Linked DNA regions of Homo sapiens: regions 1, 2 and 3 are each linked to region 4. The links are contacts of gene promoters, found by promoter capture Hi-C in human tissues and cell types (Jung and others, 2019). All regions are on one chromosome and are shown on one strand. Each heading gives the region's core, a stretch centred on a gene start or on the middle of the fragment in contact. The rest is flanking DNA. Distances are from core to core; before and after follow the strand shown.

Evidence for each region. The method cuts DNA at HindIII sites, captures the fragments that hold promoters and counts their contacts. A contact is called where the count stands out against the background at its distance.
Region 1: a contact is called between a fragment that was not itself captured here and the fragment with the promoter of FOXA1 in region 4, in 1 of the 25 tissues and cell types used here (H1 embryonic stem cells).
Region 2: a contact is called between a fragment that was not itself captured here and the fragment with the promoter of FOXA1 in region 4, in 1 of the 25 tissues and cell types used here (mesendoderm cells).
Region 3: a contact is called between a fragment that was not itself captured here and the fragment with the promoter of FOXA1 in region 4, in 2 of the 25 tissues and cell types used here (H1 embryonic stem cells and mesendoderm cells).

Annotation. Positions count from the first base shown.
Region 1 is chr14:37,318,364-37,323,313 of GRCh38, reverse strand. The region is part of intron 9 of MIPOL1 (mirror-image polydactyly 1); the gene reads right to left. Among named protein-coding and RNA genes, the nearest start is that of MIPOL1, 120 kb to the right of the region's middle. The HindIII fragment of the contact is 5,880 bases long and covers 1-4,950 here.
Region 2 is chr14:37,883,215-37,888,838 of GRCh38, reverse strand. No RefSeq gene overlaps it. Among named protein-coding and RNA genes, the nearest start is that of LINC00517, 16 kb to the left of the region's middle. The HindIII fragment of the contact is 7,378 bases long and covers 1-5,586 here.
Region 3 is chr14:37,854,705-37,859,974 of GRCh38, reverse strand. No RefSeq gene overlaps it. Among named protein-coding and RNA genes, the nearest start is that of LINC00517, 45 kb to the left of the region's middle. The HindIII fragment of the contact is 4,961 bases long and covers 1-4,036 here.
Region 4 is chr14:37,592,714-37,598,145 of GRCh38, reverse strand. It overlaps FOXA1 (forkhead box A1), which reads left to right and starts at 2,897. Exons shown (of 2, transcript NM_004496.5): 1 at 2,897-3,245. The coding sequence starts at 3,174. TTC6 (tetratricopeptide repeat domain 6) reads right to left here and starts at 2,517. Exons shown (of 33, transcript NM_001310135.5): 1 at 2,138-2,517. RefSeq lists enhancers at 1,389-2,588, 2,102-2,961. The HindIII fragment of the contact is 7,361 bases long and covers 1-4,242 here.

The DNA.
Region 1 (4,950 bases), core at 1,669-4,168, 270 kb after region 4:
GAGGCCTCAGAAATAACACCATACATCTACAACCATCTGATCTTTGACAAACCTGACAAAAACAAGCAAGGGGGAAAGGATTCCCTATATAATAAATGGTGTTGGGAAAACTGGCTACCCATATGCAGAAAACTGAAACTGGATGCCTTCTTTACACCTTATATAAAAATTAACTCAAGATGGATTAAAGATTTAAACATAAGACCTAAAACCATAAAAATCCAAGAAGAAAACCTAGGCAATACCATTCAGAACATAGGTATGGGCAAAGACTTCATGACTAAAACACCAAAAGCAACGGCAACAAGAGCCAAAATTGATAAATGGGATCTAATTAAACTAAAGAGCTTCTGCACAGCAAAAGAAACTATCATCACAATAAACAGGCAACCTACAGAATGAGAGAAAAATTTGCAATCTATCTATCTGACAAAGGTCTAATATTCAGAATCTACAAGGAACTTAAACACATTTACAAGAAAAAACAAACAACCCCATCAAAAAGTGGGCAAAGGATATGAACAGATACTTTTCAAAAGAAGACATTTATGCGGTCAAGAAATACATGAAAAAAAGCTCATCATCACTGGTCATTAGAGAAATGCAAATCAAAACCACAGTCAGATACCACCTCATGCCAGTTAGAATGGCAATCATTAAAAAGTCAGAAAACAACAGATGCTGGAGAGGATGTGGAAAAAATAAATGAATAAATGAGTAAATATTTTTAAAGAAAGAAAATCTAGGTCTACTTCACAAAATAAAAATATTAAAAAAAATCCTCCTGAGCCAAGTACAAGTTTTAAAAAAAGATACATTTCTTATCTATATAAGAACAGAGTAAAACAAATAAATGTGGTCATCTTAGATATATTGTGATGTCAAACATGACTTTCTCAAAAAGATAAAACTAAAGAGTGATATAAAAATATCAGATCAGTGATTGCCGTTGAGAGGTGGGAACATGAATTGATTGGATAGGGCATGAGGAAACTCTGGGGTAACACTGTAGTAATGTTCTGCATCTTGATCGTGGTGGTAACTATACAGTTGTATGCACTTGTCAGACGTAGAGAATGTGCACTTAGTTTTCTATATTTCAATGTGCATAACTTTTAAATAAAAACAAAATAACTGCAATAATACAGAATTCCATCTAATGATATACTATGCTGAAGGGTTTAGAAGCCAATATATTGATGCCTGCATTTACATGAATGCATCATAAGTGAGACGAATTGATGGACAGAGGGATGCCTAATAAATACCTAGATAATGTGATAAATCAAGTTTAGCAAAATATAATAATAGATTCCAAGTGGTATATATATAAACGTTCACTGTAAAATTCATACAAATTTTCCATATGTTTAAAATTTCTCATAATAAGATGTTGGGGTCAAGTCTGAACTTGGAAAAGGATGGAAAAGGATATAACATTCAGATATATAAGTAGACATTAAGGCAAAAAGTATTACCAGAAATAAAAGTGGGCATTTCATAATGATAAAAGTCTATTCTATAGGAAGATACAGTAATCGTAAAGACCTTAGTACATAATAAAATGGCTTCAAAATAAATAAAATGAAAATTCACAGAATTAAAAGGAGAAAAATTAATCATAATCATTGAATACTTTAAACATCTCTCTTGATAACTGACACAACATACGAACAATACATCTATGCACAACAACTGGACAACACGATTAACCTATTTGGTCTAAATAACATACGGAGACAATACTACACTCAACAACTACAGAATATACAAACTTCATGAATTGTCTAAGAAACAGGGCCTATTTAGGGTCACAGGGCAAGTATCAAAAAATTTCTAAGGATTGAAATAGTATAGCTTATATTTTCTCACCACCAGGGAATTAAATTCCAACTCAGTGACAGAAAGATAGCTTCAGAATTTCCTAATGTTTTAATATTAAGCAACATATTTTTAAATAATTCATGGGTCAAAGAAGAAAACAAAATTAGAAACTAAAAAATATTTCAACATATATAATAATGAGACACATATATAATAATGAGAAATGGCATATCAAAAATTTATGGGATGCAAAGCAGTATATAAAGAAAAAAGTAATCATTTTCATGAAAAGATCAATCATTTGGAAGACTCAATATTGCTAAGATGCCAATCTTGCTTTAACTATTCTTTAGAGGCCATGCAATCCCCATTAAATACTACCAGCTTGAAGAATAACAAGCTGAATGAAGAACTGAGAATAGCTGCAGAAATACTGAAGAACATTTGACAGCTGGATCCTTACACTATCACAAATTAAGACTTACTATAATGCTACAGAAATTAAGACCATGGAGTATTATTGCAGGGATAAAAACCTACAACAATGGAACAGAACAGAGTCCAGAAACAGATCCACACAATAACCTAAGTCATTACATGGGCTCTACTGCAATTCGTTGTTGGGAGGATGGGGAGACACAATTCATTAATTGCATGATGCTGAGACAAGTTGACTAGGCATCTATATGAAGAAAATAAATGACTTTGACAATATAAAAAGTATTTTGAAACTGATCAGGACCTAAATGTGAAAGCTAAAATAATCAAGCTTCTAGAAGAAAGCACAGTAGAACATGTTCAGTGCTATGGGAATGGCAAGGGTTTCTGAAACAGGATACAAAATGCATTAACCATAAGGAGAAAAAAATGATAAATTAGACTACATTAAAATTAAGAATTATTGCCATCAAAAGACAGCATTAAGAGAATAAAAATGCAAGCCACAGACTGTATAAATATATATAAATTACATAAATCAATAAGAAAAACAACAAAATTTAATAATGGACAATAGCCTCGAAGAGATATTTCACAAAAGAAGATATCAAAATGGTCAAAAAACATATAAAAAGCTACCAACATCATTAGTCATTAGGGAAACACAAAATACAAATAAATCAACAATGAAATATGACTATACACCCATCAGAATGATTGATATTAAAATCAGTAATGATACCAAGTATTAACTCTCACAGCTGGAACAACTCACTTACATTGCTGCTGTAAACTGGCACAACTTTGGAAAAACATTTGGCATTACCTAATAAAGCTAAACCTATGACTCAACTATTCTTTTCTTTTGTATGTGCCTGTATATGTATCAAAATAAATAAATGCTAAGGCCCGCCAAAAGATATGTTCAAGAATCTCTATAATACTTCATGCATAATAGGTTAAAAATGAAAACAATCTAAATTTCTGTCATCTGTTTAACATGTTTAATATGCAAATAAATCATGGCATATTCACACAAGGGAACATCACACCACAATGAAAAAGACACATTATTAATAATTATTAACAATACAGATCAACATACAGTAGTTAACACTGGGTGACAGAAATTAGACACAAGGAGTATATAACATATGACTCCTTTTATATGAAGTTTTAAAACATGCAAAATGACCCATGGAGACAGAAATAAGAGGAGTGATTATCTTTGGTGAGAAATTCCGACTGGGAAGAGACAAGAAAGAGCCTCCTGGAGTACTAGCAGTGTTCCATATCTTGATCAGGATGCTGCTTTCAAGGGAACACACATATATAAAAATTCATCAAATCCTTCACTTGAGATTACTTCCCTTCAAGTTATACCCTCATTTACAAAAATAGAAGCTTCCATAGCTTTCAAATCTATTCCTCTCCTTGTTTTTCTTGTTTAGAACCTCATCACCTCTTGCCTCAATTATAATAGGTTCCCATAATCATTGGTCTCCTCAGACTTATGTTCATATTACTCAAGGCACTTGATAAAGTCTTGCCCAGAAATCTTCCTCAAGAGTAGCACTTTCTGCATTATCAGAAAACTCAAAAACTGCAAGTTTCACATTGCCTAGAGAATTAAGTCTACATTTCTTAGCATTTTATCTGCTTAAAGTCCCCAAATGAAATTTCAAATAACATTTCTAGGTACAACTTTTCTAAGAAGGCTATTTAGAAATATATATTTATTTTTAAATGTTTGTATTCTTTGGTCTGTCCTTTTCATTCCTGGGAATTTTCCTTGAAGAAAGAAACATGGATGTACATAAAAATTTAGTTACAAAAATGTTCCCATTCTCAAAACTCTCAATGGCAGGTGAGTTAAACAAATCTTAACATGTCCACATTATCAAAGCATGAGACCAGGTGCAGTGACTCATGCCTGTAATCTCAGCACTTTGGAAGGCAGAAGCAGGTAGATCGCTTGAGCCCAGGAGTTCAAGACCAGCCTGGGCAACATGGTGAAACCCCGTCTCTACAAAAAATACAAAAAAATCAGACTAGCATGGTAGTGTGTGCCTGTTGTCCCAGCTCCCTGGAGGCTGAGGTTGGAGGATCACCTGAGCCTGGGACGTCAAGGCTGCAGTGAGCTGAACCACGGCCATGATCACACCACTGTATTCCAGCCTGGGTAACAGAATGAGACTCTGTCTTAACTAACTAACTAACTAACTAAATAAATAAATAAATAAATAAATAAATAAATAAAATGAAGTAAAATTATGAGAATGTCTAACAAAATGTCAAATCAATGTGAAAAATCAGGCTACAAAGTAGTATATACAATACAATATGTATTGAAAAAAGACAATCTACATATAACTTTCTAGGAAGTGAGCTTGGGGGCAATTTTTTCCTTCTTTTTGCTTATCTGTACTTTCTAAAGTTATATATACTTTCAAGAAGTTGTAAAAATTTCACAGTAAGAAAAAAGTAATTACAACAGATGAACTATCAACAATATATTTTAGCAAGACTGACTGAAAAACATGCATAAGCAAATAATTGTATGATAGGAAAGCAAATTAACAAACTGACAAGGGAAAAAATTAATGAAAATCTTACAGCCACTGTAATTAAGAATATCAAATATGTTCCCTACTTTTCCTGAAAAACATAACTCTAAATGTTATGCTT
Region 2 (5,624 bases), core at 648-3,147, 290 kb before region 4:
CTAAACTATCATCATTTCAACACTTAGTCAATATATAAAATTATTAACAAGATATATCCATTTTAAGTCTTTGAAATCGACATCTCAATTTGGACTAGCCATATTTCTAGTGCTCAGTAGCCACATGTGTCTGGTGGCTACAATATTGGACAGTGCAGACTTTAAATACTGAAAATACAGAAGTAGTGAATTATCTATAAATAATAGAAAAGGTTCTGACTTTGTAGATTAAGCTATCTAGCTTATATTTTTACTCCTTGGTTACAGTTTTTTTGGCACTAGAGAGGCCATTTAACCTGAGCCTCTCCCCATCAGAAAAAAATGTTGATAAATAATCTCTACCTTTCAAGTTTGTTGGCATGAATGTGTGCAGAGTACCAGCACACTGCCAGGCCCCCAGAGGACACTGAATACATTACAATATACTGATAACATATTCATATAGAAGGGCTCCAGAGCTACCCACAGTGAGAGTAAGAAATCTCTCTGAAGGGAATTAGATCCTCTCATTTTTCCTGGCTTAAAATCACAAAAATAGAAGAGAAAGCGGTAGCTTCATTCTAGCTTTTTTCTAACTTTACAGTATAATATTCCAATAGATTGTATCTCTTTATGTATTGTATCCCTTTTATGAAAATACACAGACTTCCAGTTTCTAATCTGGCATGTAAGCAGCTAACAAGTCTTCACTGCAACCCAAAAAGTGAAGAGCTAAACAAACAGGAACATCAACAACTCTTCTTAGATCTATCAGAGAAGGGAGGTCACAGGGAAAACCACCACCCCAAAAACTGGAGACAGACAGGCAGATACAGAGAATCACAACTTAGCAGAGCAGAAACCTTCACAGCAACCAGTACCTGAAGAAATAAAGGTAAAATAAAAACATTTACTTTTTTTATTCTTAATAGATCTAACAGATAATAACATGTTCAAAATAACAGTAACAATGTATTTGATTATATATGTCTGTGTGTGCGTGCGCGCGCGCGCGTGTGTGTGTAAGTGAATGGCAGTGAAGACACAAGAAACAGGGCTGAGGAAGGAATTAGGAATACTTTGTTATCGTAAGGTACTCACAGTACCCATGAAGTGTTATAGTGTTATCTGAAAGTGAAGTAGAATTAGTTGTAAACATGTATTGCAAACTCTAGAGCACCCACTTTAAAAAAAAAAAAGCTTTTAAAAAATGAGTATAATTGATAAGAAAGGAGAGAAGATTGAATCATATAAAATGCTCCTTTAAAACCACAAAATGCATAAAAGAAGTGGAAAAAATGGGAAGAAAGAATAAGGGCAACAAATAGAAAACAGTAACAAATGTAGCAGGTGTTAATTGAACTATATCAATCATCACCATAAACGTCAGTGGCCTAATGCACAAATTAAAAGATACAGATTGTTGGCCAGGTGCAATGGCTCATGCCAGTAATTCCAGCACTTTGGGAGGCTGTGGTGGGAGAATCACTTGAAACCAGGAGCTCAAGACTAGCCTGGGTAACATACCAAAGCCCTGTCTCTACAAAAAAACTTTAAAAATTGGCTGAGCATAGTAGTACATGCCTGGAGTCCTAGCTACTTGGGAGGTTGAGGCAGGAGGATGGCTTGAGCCCAGGAATTAGAGGTTACAGTGAGCTGTGATTATACTACTGCACTCCAGCCTGAGAGGCAGAAATAGACTCTTAAAAAAAAAGAAAGAAAGAAAGAAAGAAAATTGTCAGAGGAATCAAAAAACAAGGACCAACTATATGAACTATTTGTTGTCCAGCTGAAATCCCCTTTAAATATAAAGACACATATAGATTAAACGAATGGAAAAAGATATACCATGATCTTACTAATCAAAAGAAAAATGTAGTAACGATATTTATTTCAGACAGAGCAGATTTCAGAGCAAACAAGTTATCAGGAATAAAGAAGAACATTATATAATGATTTAAAAAAAGGGTCAATACTCTCAAGAAGACATAACAATCTTTAATGTGTATGCACCCAACAACAAAGCATCAAAATACATGAGGCAAAAACTGACAGAACTGCAAGGATAAATAGATTAATCCACTATTATAGTTGCAGACTTTAATATCCCTCTATCAAAAATGGATAGGTCCAACAGGCAGAAAGCCAGTAAGAACATAGTTGAACTCACTAGCATCATCAATTAACTGGATATAGCAGACATCTATAGACTATTTCATCCAACAGTAGCAGAATATACATTCTTCAAGTTCACGAGAAGCATCCAAAAGATAGATTACATTTGGGGCCATAAAACAAACCTTAGCAAATTTAATATAATAGAATCATATAATACCTCAAACCACAATGGAATTAAACTAGAAATCAATAACAGAAGAATGTCTAGAAAATCTAAAAATACTTGAAGATTAAACAACACACTTCTAAATAATATGGGTCAAAGAAAAAATCTTAATAAAAATTTTAAAATATTTTGGCTGGGCACAGTGGCTCACACCTGTAATCCCAACACTTTGGGAGGCCAAGGCAGGTGGATTACTTGAGGCCAGAAGTTCAAGACCAGCCTGGCGAACATGATGAAACCCTGTCTCTACCAAAAATACAAAAATTAGCCAGGTGTAGTGGTGCGTGCCTGTAGTCCCAGCTACTCAGGAGGCTGAGGCAGGAGAATTGCTTAACCCCAGGAGGTAAAGGTTGCAGTGAGCCAAGATCATGCCACTGCACTCCAGCCTGGACAACAGAGTGAGACTCTGTCAAAAAAAGAAAAAATAAACAAAATATTTTAAGCTAAATAAAATAGAAAATACAATTTAAAAAACTGGGGGGATTCAGTGAAAGCACTGTGTAGAGAGAAATTTGTAGCATTGAATGATTATATTAGCATTGAATGATTACATTAGAAAAGAAGAAATATGTAAAGTCAATGATCTAAGTCTCCACATAAGAAAACTAGAAAAAGAAAAACAAACTAAATCCAAAATAAGCAGAAGAAAATTATTATTATTATTATTACTAGAAATCAATAAAATTGAAAGCAGGAAATCAATAGAAAAATATCAGTAAAACCAAAAGCTGGTTCTTTGAAAAGATCAATAAAAATCAATAAGCCTCTAGCCAGGCTAAGCAAAAAAAAGAAAGAGAGAGAACACACAAATCAATAAATGAAAATGAAATTAGGGACCTCAGTAAATATCCCATGGACATTAAAAGGATAATAAAATAATTACTATGCCCATAAATGTTACAACCTAAATAAAATGGACCAATTTATTGAAAAATGCAATCTGTTAAAATTCACAAAAGAAGAAATAGAGCATCTGAATAAGTCTATATCTATTAAAGAAATTGTATAAATAATTAATAACCTTTCAACACAGAGAGCACCAGGCCCAGGTGGGTTCACTGGTAAATTCTAACAAAAATTTAAGGAAGAAATTACACAAATTCTTTAAAATCTCAAAAAAAAAAAAATCAACATAAAACCGGATATCCAGGAGAGATTTGGGAGTGGGGGAAAAACAAACATAAATACCAGCTCCAACGGAAGAAAAAAAAACTCTTTCAAAAGATAGAAGCAGAGGGACTACCTTCTAACTCATTTGATGGGGCCAGAATTACCCTAACACCAAAACCAAACAAAGACATTACAAGCAAAGAAAACTATAGACCAATATCACTGATGAATATAAAAGCAACAATCCTCAACAAAATATTTGCAAATGAAATCCAATAATGTATAAAAATACTTCTATACCACAACCACATAAGTTTTATCCTAGGTACACAAGATTGGTTCAACATTCAAAAATCATTTAATATAATCTAGCACATCAATAGTCTAAAAAATAAAAATCACATGATCATATTATTAGATACAGAAAAATAATTTGACAAAATCAAACATTCATGATAAAAACTGTCAGCAAACTTGGAATAGAGACGAATTTTCTCAACTTGATTAAGAGCATCTACAAAATGTCTATAGATATCATCACACCTAGTAGTAAGAAATTCAAAGCTTTCCCACTAAGATCAAGAACAAGCAAAAATGTCCCTTCTCACCACTGCTTTTCAACATTGTGTTGAAAGTTCTGGATAATTCAATAAAACGAGAAAAGGAAAAAAATGGTATACAAATTTAGGAAGGAAGAAATAAACTGGCTTTATTTATAGATGATATAATTTTCTATGTAGAAAATCTAATGAATTGACAAAAAATCCTAGAATAAGTGATTATAGCAAAATGGTAGGATACAAGATTAATATACAAAAGTCAATCACTTTCCAATATACCAGCAATAAACGAGTGGAATTTGACATTAAAAATACATTACCATTCACATTAGCACCCCCAAAAATGAAATATTTAGGTATAAATATAACAAAATATATACAAAATCTATGTGAGGAAAACCAAAAAACTCTGATGAAAGATACCCAAGACAAAATTTAAAATAGAGAGATATTTTATCTTCAAGTATAAGAAGACTCCATATTGTCAAAATTTTAGTTCTTCTCAACTTGACCCATAAATTCAACACAATCCCAATCAAAATTTCAGCAAATTATTTTGTGGATATTAACACACTAATTCTAAAGTTTGTATGAAAAGGAGAAAGACCCACAATAACCAACTCAATATTGAAGGAGAACAAAGTAAGAGGATTGACACTGCCCAACATCAGACTTAATATCTTTATATTTCATGTTTATATTACTACAGTAATCATGACAATGTGTTACCAATGAAATAATATACAGGTAGATGAGTGGAACAGAATAGAAAGCTGGCATATAGGCCCACATAAAGCCAAGAAAATGACCCCAAAAGCCAAGAAATTGGCCCACATAAAGATCAGTTTGTCAACTGATCTTTGAGAAAAGAGCAAAGGCAATACAATAGAGCAAAGATAGCATTTTCAACAAATGGCTCGGACAACTGGACATTCACATGCAAAATGCAAAATTATAGCACTTCTGGAAGATAACATAGGAGAAAATCTAGATGACCTTTGTGTATGGAGATGTCATTTTAGATGCAATACCAAAGGCACAACCCATGAAATAAATAATTGATAGCTAGAATTCATTAAAATTAAAAATTCCACTCTGCAAAAGACACTGTCAAGAGAATGATAAAACAAGCCACAGGCTGAGAGAAAATATTTGCAAAAGACACATTTGATAAAGGAGTGTTATCCAAAATATACAAAGAACTCTTAAAACTCACCAATAACAAAATGAACAACTCAATTTAAAAATGGACAAAAGACTTTTACAGCCAATTCACCAAAGAAGATACACAAATGGTTAGTAAGCAAATGAAAAGATGCTCAACATCATATATTATTAAGGAATTGCAAATTAAAACAACAATGAGGTACCACTGTGCACCTGTTATAACTGCCAAAATCCAAAACACTGACAACACAAAATGCTGGCAATCATGTGGAAAAACAGAAACTCTTATTCATTACTGGTGAGGATACAAAATGGTACAGCTACTTTGAAAGATAACTTGGCAGTTTCTTACAAAACTAAGCATACTTTTAGCACATGATCCAGCAATCACACTCCCTGGTATTTTCTCAAATAAATTGAAAACTTTCATCCATACACACAAACAAAAAATGCATATGGATGTT
Region 3 (5,270 bases), core at 307-2,806, 260 kb before region 4:
TTTTCAAAAGGGTGATTTGTAAAGCCAAAAAATTTACTCTATTCTTTTGTTGACTTTGAATTTAAGTAGATTAGTGCCCCCAAAAGATGGAAAATATGTTAAGAACAAATAGCTGAGCACATCCATAGCATTATCTAAAATGTCAAATAAAAGGTCAGCACTGAAATTAAATTTCAGCACCATTATGAACACTGCTGGTCCCTTCATTTGATCTGCCCCACTCTCCCAAAGTCCTATTTTTTTAAAGTCGCTTTTCAACAGCACCTCCTAATAGGCAGGTAACCACAAGGTGATCTAGAATTCATCACAAAGCAGTGGACAAAGGGTGGGCAACTGGGACCCTCCTCCCAGGGCCCTTTGCACCACCTTGCAACACCTTACTGAGCTTACCTAGCAGTTGTAAGGGCAGTGCTTAATTCTCAGCTTTAACCATGAGCTCAAAACTCAAGGACACAGAGAACGAGAGGAAGAATGGGAGTTCCCACCTCCCCTCTCTTTCTGTCTGCCAGCCACCTCTTCTTCATCAATAGGAGTTATCAAACACCTGTGATGAGCTGAGGACTGAGTCCAATGCTATTAGGGTAAGGGAGGGACATGAAAAGAGCCTAAGACATAGTTCCTGCCCTCAAGGAACATACAATCTAGATGGAAAGATGACTCAGAAGCATGCGCAATTATGGAACAATTCAGAGCCTCGAGTAGTCTTATTTTTTTTCTATGCTACTCTCAGCTACATCCAAATTAGGTAGGTAGACAAATAGGTAGGTAGGTAGACAGACAGACAGACTAGATAGATGGACAGACTAGATAGATAGATACGTACATACATAAGATAGATAGATAGATAGATAGATAGATAGATAGATAGATAGATAGATAGATAGATAGAGACAGATTTAAAATATTTGGGACATTTTAGTTTCTTTGTCACTCTTTGAACTGGAACTATAAAAAATACTCTTTTACTATCACAAGAGGATAGAGGACCTAATATAATGCTACTGCTGTGTCTCAACAGTGACAGCCAGGTACAAAGGTTACCATTACTTCCCTTTGGGCTCTGAGTGTGTCTTGCCTGCAGCCACCACTCACCGTCCCTCACTTCTAACTGGGTTCCCTGGCTGTGGGCACTTCTGGACTACAGCTTATTCCTCCCCAACAATGTTGAGTCCCCAGCTCTATTTAAGCAATCTCTAGTGTGAAAGAGTAAACTGCTTCTCAGAACTTTGAAAGGAGTAGGAAAAAAAAAGTCCAGAACCCTGTGTACCTGGGATTAATTTTATCTCTGTTTTCAAAAAAATAAAAATAGTTCCTCCCTCCAACCCACTGCTTTAGAATGTGACTTGGAGTAACATCTAGTGAGAGAGAGATTAGTCTGTTCATTTGTCCTGCATTATGGTACACATCATTAAAGGTCTAAATACAAAAGATATATGTACACAATCTTGAAGATTAAAAGTAAATTGCAAGCTATTTTGATTCTTCAGAGGGAATTAATAGTATCATATTGCTTAATCTTTTGTAGAGGGTTTAAAGAGTAGTTTCATAAATATGATCTCCTTTAATTCCCACAACAACTCAGTCAGGTAGGCAGGTAATATTATTCCCATCAAACCCATAGACCTTAAGGCTAGAAGGGACTTGAAGGCCTATGCTGCAGATAAGAAAATAGGTTCAGAGCAGTTAACTGAAGTCACATAGCTAGTAGAGACATGACTACGAAGCCTCATTCTGACACCCAGACCTTTCTGTTGCCTTTCTACCATACCAGGTTGCCTCATTGATCCCAAGCAGGGGAAGCTGAAAGTGGCCATTTTGTATGTAGTGAGCACATGGGAGGAAGGAAGGGAGGCAGGGAAGAAGGGAGGAGAGGAGGAAGGGAGGAAGGAAAGGAGGGAGGGAGGAAGAGAGTAAGGGAAAAAGGGAGGAAGGGAGGGAGGAAGGAGGCGGAGGGAGGATAAGAGGGAGGGGAGAGGTGCTCAAGGGTTTCAATTGTAGCCTGTCTGTTTTGTGACAACATCAGCTGAGACCTTCACATTCAAGGTTATAGTACTGTGAGGTATAGACCCCTTTAAATCTTCTGTGTTCATGTGCCAGTGTTACAGCTGACAGAGAAGGGAACTAGCCACTTGTTAAGCCTGCCCAACCCCAAATGAAAATTGGTTCCCAGTCAATACACCCCATCTGATTTTGTCAGGGGATGCCTAGGTCTGGAATTCCAGAACCTCTGAGAAGAAAGGTCATTTCTCAGGCTGACTGTGATGCTTAGAGCCCAAACTTAACTAAAGATCTTCAAACCGTATTAGAACAAATTATACGGAGAATGGAACCAAATTTTACCATTTTCCCCCAGAATCAAAGCCATGGAATATTTTCAGGACAAGGATAACTTTTAAGCCCCAGCCTCCTCAGATCAATCTTTGTGTGAGCCCATCAGATGTACTGACAAGACTAGAGACAAGGTGAAAGCCACACTAGGAAGGGAGTAAAGGACCATTTATTTTATCAGGAGACCTCTGTGTCTACCTTCATACAAGACAACTGACATGAGAGACACAAAGGTAAGACAGATTGACCAAGGATTCTACCCCAACCTCCTTCCCCAGGTGCAAGAGTGTGTGGCCGCCGCTTAGTTAAGGTGCAATACTATGCAACAGTGTGTGGCCGCCTAGTTAAGCTCTTTACTTGGCAAGCCACCAGCCACTTGGGACAGACAACTGGGTCACCATGGCCCCCTGACATCAACACTGTTCAGACACCAGAGAGAATAAAACAGGAATTTAATCCAAAGATTGGTTTTGGAGAACCACGCTCAGACTGGAAGGCTGAGCCCTGAAAAAGATCTGTCTCACCAGCTGGCCAAAATAAATACAGGCAAAAATAAAAGAAAAGGAGAGAAAAGCAGATTATGAATAGTTTTTCCAGACATGCAATTCTAAACCTAAGTCCAGATACGTACTTTACAAAAAAAAAAAAAAAAAGAAGTGCCTTAGTCTTTTGAACTATTTCATCTCTGGAAACAGCCTTATTTTACTGCTAATTTGCTTCGATTCAGAAAACTGACATATAGGGAGATCAAGGAACTTATATACTTATATGCATTTATGTAGAAGTTTATTATTCTAAACATTAAAGCACAATAATACAAGACTAAAAGGCATGTTAGTTATTACTGATATAAAACATACATAACTACCTTCCATATCCTGGCTGTTAGCATTGACTTTTTGTTGCGATTTGCTGAAACCCATGTCTGCATTTTAAAACCTTTCTTTTTTAAAGGATCAAAATTTTTCCCCAAATACAAATTTCAACAGACACACATCAAATGCCTACTATGAGCTGGCCGCTCCATTATTGATTTAGAAATTATTGGGATTTTGTTGAGGAAAGAAAGAAGAAAAAGAAAGTGAAATTCCCCAAGGGGAAATAAAGCTTATAAGAAACTTGACTGTTTACAATGCTAATCTTCATATAACTTAGAAAAGTACATATCAAATTTGAAAAGGATTTTATGTTCCCATTAAGAAGAGATGTGTATTGTTTTGTATCTGTTTATAATGAACATGGTCATTTTATTGTATTCTGAAATGATAGCATGCATTGGTTGTTTTCAATCTCAAAGACAGTTTCAGTGAAACAAAATTATTGTTAATGTGAATAATATATTGATTATTGTGTGCTGGAAGTTTAACAGCAATGATATAGCTAGGAAGTAGAACATTTAAAAGTACAGTCTTCAACACTAAAGAAATAACTCATCCAAATCCTATAATATTATGTAAAATGGAAAAAGATATGCTTATAATTAACTGCTATGTTCACTTATTCTAAAGCTTTTGGTCCTATGAAAGCAGAATGTTTACAGCTGGTAATACTATCCATATCTTAAATAGCTTTTTAATGACACTGCTCTTCTTTGGCTAAATTATGTCACATAAAACCTCCCAGAGAAATGAAAAAGAGCACAGTTATGAACAAGACATATAAAGTTCCCAAACTCATTCAAAAGCCTTGCCAATATACTCATCCCAGTACTGAACACATTTTCAAATCAGCCACTCTGACCTTTCTAATGAGCATATTACCAGAATCGCAACTGTCATAAAAGGAAAGAGATCTTATTAACCAAGAAAGTTTATATCCCACGTAAGCCTCACACATTAAATATTGCATAATCCATGCACTGAAAAGCAGGAAGGATCAATATTCTAAGTACAGGAATCTCAAATAAGCTTAAATGAATGTTTTTATATTTGTATAATAATGGCATACTCTGAACTCTAAATTATGAGTAAACATTTTAATACAAAGCATATAAGCACTTTTCCTTATTTTTCAGAATTTACTTCAAACTGTTAATTATGCCTTTGATGCCTGATCCATTATACATGGGTTATACCATAAATTAAAGTCAAAAATGGGTACCACATAGCATAACTAGTTTTCCATATGACAGAATTTTTATTCTTTTTCATTACAAATTGAGATAGATTCAAAAGGTACTCAGGAATATCAATCTTTATAAAACCAGCCCAGGTTACTAAATTTCTGTTTAGTTTAATACCAAATTTTTATAGACAAGTAGCTAAAAATATATTGTTTTGAAAACTCTGAAATCAAAGAAATACAGATTACAGAGGATGAATAACAAAAATTTCAAAAACAAATCCACCCATGTTGTATTGATGCTGCGTCTATAGGCTTCGTATGTTTAATTATGTCTTAATATATGCTTGCCCACATCAATGATGTCTGGTTTTGTGGCAAAGCTCAGATTAATTATGTTTCTTTAATATGTCTAACATAAAATGATGCCCATTTAATAAGAATCTTTGATGATGGTCACAAACCCTCGGCAGAACTCCCAGTTACCACAGAGTGTCTTGTAAAACAAACAAAAAAAAATTAACAAACTTATAATCACCAAAAATGTCAAGGACTGACTTGAGTACTATTTTAAGTACTTTTTTCAATCAAAGAAAGAAACTTCTTAGTGCACCGCTTCTCAAACATGAATGCACATACACGTCACCTGCAGATTCTCATTCAGGAGGTCTGGGGTAGGACCCCGGATGCTGCATTTGTAACATGTTCTCAGGTGAGGCAGGAAACACACTTTACATAGAGAGTAGGAAAATCTTTCTAAGATACCAGAACAAGGCCTCAACACCTTATTGGAGAGTTCCTTGGAGTTTAATAAGTTTTTCTATAAGGGGGCTCATCCCAAACACTACCTACCTTCTCAGTCAAATGAAAGAAAAGAATGG
Region 4 (5,432 bases), core at 1,648-4,147:
TATTTGGGAAAAGAGGTTGGAAAAGAGCAGGCTGCAGCCGCTGGACCTGGCTACCGACTGGCCAGCAACTCCCAGACAGCAGCATTACTTTATGTATGTATGTATGCATTTCCAAGTCAAAGACCCAACACGACCCTGCTGATTCGCTTTTAAACCTCAGGGAAAGTGACTGGCTGGCATCTGGGTACACTAGAACCTCACCTCCTAAATTTGTTAGGTATCTTGCAATGCGGCCACTGAGATGGAGAGAGGCTGGGAGCTGGACGAACGGCCATCTCTCCTTCCATCTTGGCCTCGGCTCTAAGAACCTAAATCCCTGACTGGGATGCGTGCGGAGTTCAATCCAGTATCGCCTGGCGGTGCTCCCCGGAGGCGCCTGCGGGAAAATTCAGCTTTCCCTCTCCACGACAGGAGGCGCTGTTTTCGTGGAAATCCCCCGGCTGCGAACCTGGGATCCCTGACCTGGATCAAGTCTCCGAAGCTGGCAGAGTCCATTCTGCATCACCGGTCTTGGGCTTTGAAGAAGCCTAGGAGAAATTCCGCTTCGGCCATCACGCTATGAAAAGTGGATTTTTTTTTCTTAAGTCAATTTTTTTTTTTTGAAAATATGAGACTTAGTAGGTTTGGGAAGTGGGCTAAAAGAACATTTGATATTGTAATTGACCCCCCCTTTAAGGTGACAGTGTTTTTCCCCTACTTAAAGCGCCAACTTTTTTGTGCACTATAAAAGCTATTACTATCCATAAATTGTTACTCTCGGTAGAAAATAACCTAGTCTTGCTCGGTGTTATTGAAGAGCCAAGAGGGTATTGGAGAATCACCTCCAGAAGGAACAAGGAAGCTCATTAGCACTGAAAGTCCCCCGGATCAGGCCCAGGAAGCTAAGCATCCGTATACTTTACAAATGGAACTAAAGTCAGCTACTAATGGGAACTTTGCACAAAAGAATTAGTTTCTGACACACAATTCGCAGATACATTTACACAAACTGATGGGACAACTTGCAGTCACAGGAGCAGGCTGCATTAGGGAGGGTTCCTGCCCTACTGAGTTCCAGGTGGATTTAATTTCACTCATTCCTTTCCTTATGATGTGACGTTTCTACCCCCCCACCCTTTTTGTAAAAAAAAAAAAAAAAAATGTAATCCAATGCTTTTATCTTTTTTTATTTCCTTAACTGCACATCTTCACCCTCTCTGCTCCCCTGCTGACTTAAGAGATTTGTTTGGTTCAGGGATTTAAAGTGATTCTCTTGCCAGATTTCAAGTAAAAGAGATTTAAAAGAACAAAGCACAGGGAAAAAGGTATCTGTTTGGAAGACAAGTTAAAACACATTTCTTAAAATGAGATTAATAACATTTTAAAAACTTTGCAAAACAAGAAGATTTTGCGGATTCTTAATTACTTTAGATTTTATTTTATTGTTACTTAAGGAAACCTAGTGGTTCTACAGGCAGTACAACAAACACATGGTCACAGACACTCAGAAACACACACAGTCACACATGCTCAGAAATATACAAACGGTCACACACTCAAAACACACGCACCATCTCCCAATCTATCACCAACTAATTGCCTATCACCCGGTCACTTCAGTTGTTCTCTCTCCCAGGACAAGTGGGCAACCACCACCCAGGGCCTCATGAGAGTAAAGAGACTTTGCGTTGGGAAGACTCTCCCACCGACGTCCAGGACCGATTAGGAACCAAGCGAGCCCCTGAGATCTCAGCCCGGACCCTCCGGGTCACAGACAGGACCAAGCGCCGCTGCGGGCAGTCTCGGGCTTCTGCCTGGCATCTCTTTCGCAGTGCAGATGCGTTCCCGCGCCCAGGCCCTTGCTCTCCCAGCTAACGCGCGTGTTATGGGAGATGTCCCCTCCCCCTGACCTTTTCCTATCAGAAACCAGACGGTCGTCTCCAGCTCACTCCCTGAAGCGGCTGAAGGGGGGCGGGAGGAGGAGCCCGGCAGGGGGAGGACGGCCCGACTTGGGTCCGCCTGCCCTATCACACAGACATCTGCTCTCAGTTTCTTCCTCTTTGTGGTCGCTACAGATGACAAGGGGAGAGGAGCGGACCGAGGCGGAACAAAAAAAAAAAGTTATGTCATAAAGATATAAACCGGTGCTGTGACTCACCTGCTCTTAGCCGCAGGTACGAGTTTCGTGGCAGCGCCTCCGCTCTGCTAGCCCGGGGCCCGGGTCGGCCTAACGTCACTTGGCTCGGCTGACTCAGATGACCCGGTTTCTAGTGACGAAGCAAAAGTGGGGCTTTTTCCCTTTTCTAGTCTGAAGCTCTCAGGAGGAAAGAAAAAAAAAAGTCTGTATTCTCCAGTCTCCCGGGGTTGAACTTTGGGTCAGGAATCAGGAGGGAGGAAGCAAAGAGCAGGAGGGGCGCGAGACTGGGCCGCAGCCCGCGCTCGGAAGGTGGCGTGTACCTCTGGGGAGGGACCCCGGGGTCAGTTATCCCACAAGGTCTCTAAGCCCAGTCTCCGACGCCACCGCCCCCGGCCTTCTCCGGCTGCGAGGTTCCGATCCAGAGCCCTAGCCCGCCCGCCCGCCTGGCCCCGCCTATTTTTTCTTTTTCCAAAGGGGGTTACACCCCCTCCCTCCCCATTTCCCTCTTTCCCTAGCCTCCGGGCCTAAACCAATTACACTGCTTTGCAAACAAAGTGAGGGCCCCGCTTGGGGGAGGGGTCGCGGGGGAGGGGTCGCGCGCAGCGGTGAAGCGGCGGGGCGGGAGGCGCGGCGGCCGGACTGGCGGGCGGCCGCCTTGCAGGTGCACCTCGGGCTTTGTAGGTGCGAGCGTCTTTGTGCGGCGGACAAATGGGGAGAGGACGAGGAGGTGGGCACTCAAGCGACGTAAGATCCACATCAGCTCAACTGCACTTGCCTCGCAGAGGCAGCCCGCTCACTTCCCGCGGAGGCGCTCCCCGGCGCCGCGCTCCGCGGCAGCCGCCTGCCCCCGGCGCTGCCCCCGCCCGCCGCGCCGCCGCCGCCGCCGCGCACGCCGCGCCCCGCAGCTCTGGGCTTCCTCTTCGCCCGGGTGGCGTTGGGCCCGCGCGGGCGCTCGGGTGACTGCAGCTGCTCAGCTCCCCTCCCCCGCCCCGCGCCGCGCGGCCGCCCGTCGCTTCGCACAGGGCTGGATGGTTGTATTGGGCAGGGTGGCTCCAGGATGTTAGGAACTGTGAAGATGGAAGGGCATGAAACCAGCGACTGGAACAGCTACTACGCAGACACGCAGGAGGTGAGAGGCAAGGCGAGGCGGGCGGCCGGTGGGGCGCCGCTGGAGCCCGTGCCGGGGGAGGCCGGGGAGCGGTGGGCGCCAGGCAAGGCAGGCAGGCGGGCCGGGGGCGCCTTCTCGGTGCCACCGCTGCCCGCCCGCCGGTGTGGCCCCGGCCGGGCCTTGGCCGGGCCTGGAAGCGGGACCTGCTGCCCTGCTCTGTCCCGACTCTCGCAGCCGGAGAGGGAGTTTTAGGAAACTCCGGGCTTTGAAAACAGCGGCTCTAGGAAGCGCTTGCCTCTTCCCAGCAGCGAGCGGGAGCAGGAGCCGGGCCCGGGGTGCAGCGGGCGGGCGAGCGCCGGTGCGAGTTGGAAGCAACTCTGAGAAAGCCGGAGCATACCCACAAGGCGACCTCTTCGTCCCACCGTTTAATTCGCAGACGTCTTCTGATTAAAGCGCTCTGCCGCCAAGTTGGGTGTCTCAATAATGAAACGATTTCTAAATTTTGTAAAACTTGTTCTTCAAAAGCCCTATTTGGGGAGAAGTGTGCTCCTTCTCTAAAACCGCTGGGTGGCGCTAGTGCGACCAAAATCTTCTTCACAACTCTGGGCCGAGAACCTGTTTCTCTTCATTGTCCCCTTGGTGGCACGTTCATGGGGGTTATTTTTACAATGTGCACAAAAGGATTACAGGGAAAACCAGTTACAGGGAGGACTACCACCTATTAAAAGTATTTTTCTGGAAACAGCTGGCGATTACCCTCCAAAAGTTTAATTACCATTATTGAAAACGCGTATTGGAACTGCCTTGGATAATCTTGGGAAGAGGGAAAGAAAATAAAGCCCCAAGGTAAAAAATACTTTTAAGACGTGGACAGAAAAATATAGGATCACGTAATATTTTGATGGTAACTGACTTATTTAGATTTATGTATTCACAAGTTTACCTCTGAGTTTATTTGCATACCATAGTTTACTGGGTGTTCCTATTTAAATCTATTTGTTCTCATATTTTCAAATTGAGTCATACTTGCTGATTAAAATAAACTTAAGGACATCATTATTCCTTATTAAATTACCAGAGGAGTGCTTTTTAATATGCCTAGGTTTTGTATGTTTAAAATACTGTACCTAATGCATTCCCACATCGCTATTGATAAGGATTTTCGCTTGTTGATGATTTTAAAAGGAGCTCAGAGGTCTTCCAGAGATTTAATTCTGACGCAGTCATCTCGACCCCACCATTCAATTAAGACCCCTAGCGAAAGTACTTTCTTACATGTTAAAGCTGAGAATTAGGAAATACAATAGCATTAAGAGAAAATAAGTAGAATTTGATTTTCGAATTTTAAATTATTCAAGACTACTCACGGAATCTCAAAGCCAGGCGTTGAAATCATCGGCAGCAACATCAGCATGTGAAAAAAAAAAAAGATTTATTTTGACAAACTGTGTCACCAAATTTTTCAAACAGGGGACTGTAAAGTGGTGACAAAATTAATGCGAGTTTCTAAATAGCTTGCAAAGGTGTACATGTAAAGTCATGTTAAAATAAAATGCATATAGCACTTTGAGATTATTATAGCACCCCCTCCCAGCCCTTTCTGTTATGGATCTACTTTTAGTTTTATTTTTCCAAAACTTATTTAACTCTGAGTTTGCTTCCCTTTTAACATTACAGTTGCTACAAGCAGGTAGAAAACACTACTTCTAAATACAATAAACAACAAAAAGTCACCATAGGCAAAAACCCCTAGGACAATAAAGCCACTTGTTGGGAAACAGATGATTCAGGGGGTCCCATGTCCATAGGTGATTTGCTCTATCAACGATTTCCCCCCAAAGGGCGCTTTGCCGAGGCTGGTTGGGGTGGAGACTTGGGATACCGCCTGGCGTGGATGGAGGAGGCGATGAGGGGGCCCTGGAAGCCAGCCCCTGAGCCTGGCGTGTAAGGCGATTACACATCTTCCTGGGGTCATATTTTCTGTGAGCGTTTATCTTTCATGCCTGCCGCGCTAGGATTTTCCCCCTGCCGTGCAAGACATCTTTGCTCGGTCTGGGGAGGGCGCTTAGCCATTTGCCCCGGGTGGGGGCGTCCCGTGTTCTGCAAAGTGCTCTGCACTTGCCCCCGGGTTAGGTCCCGGACGGCCGCCCTCCAGTGCCCACCACTAACCCCGCCCTCCGGGGCTTCTTCACTCGCTGTCTCCACTCC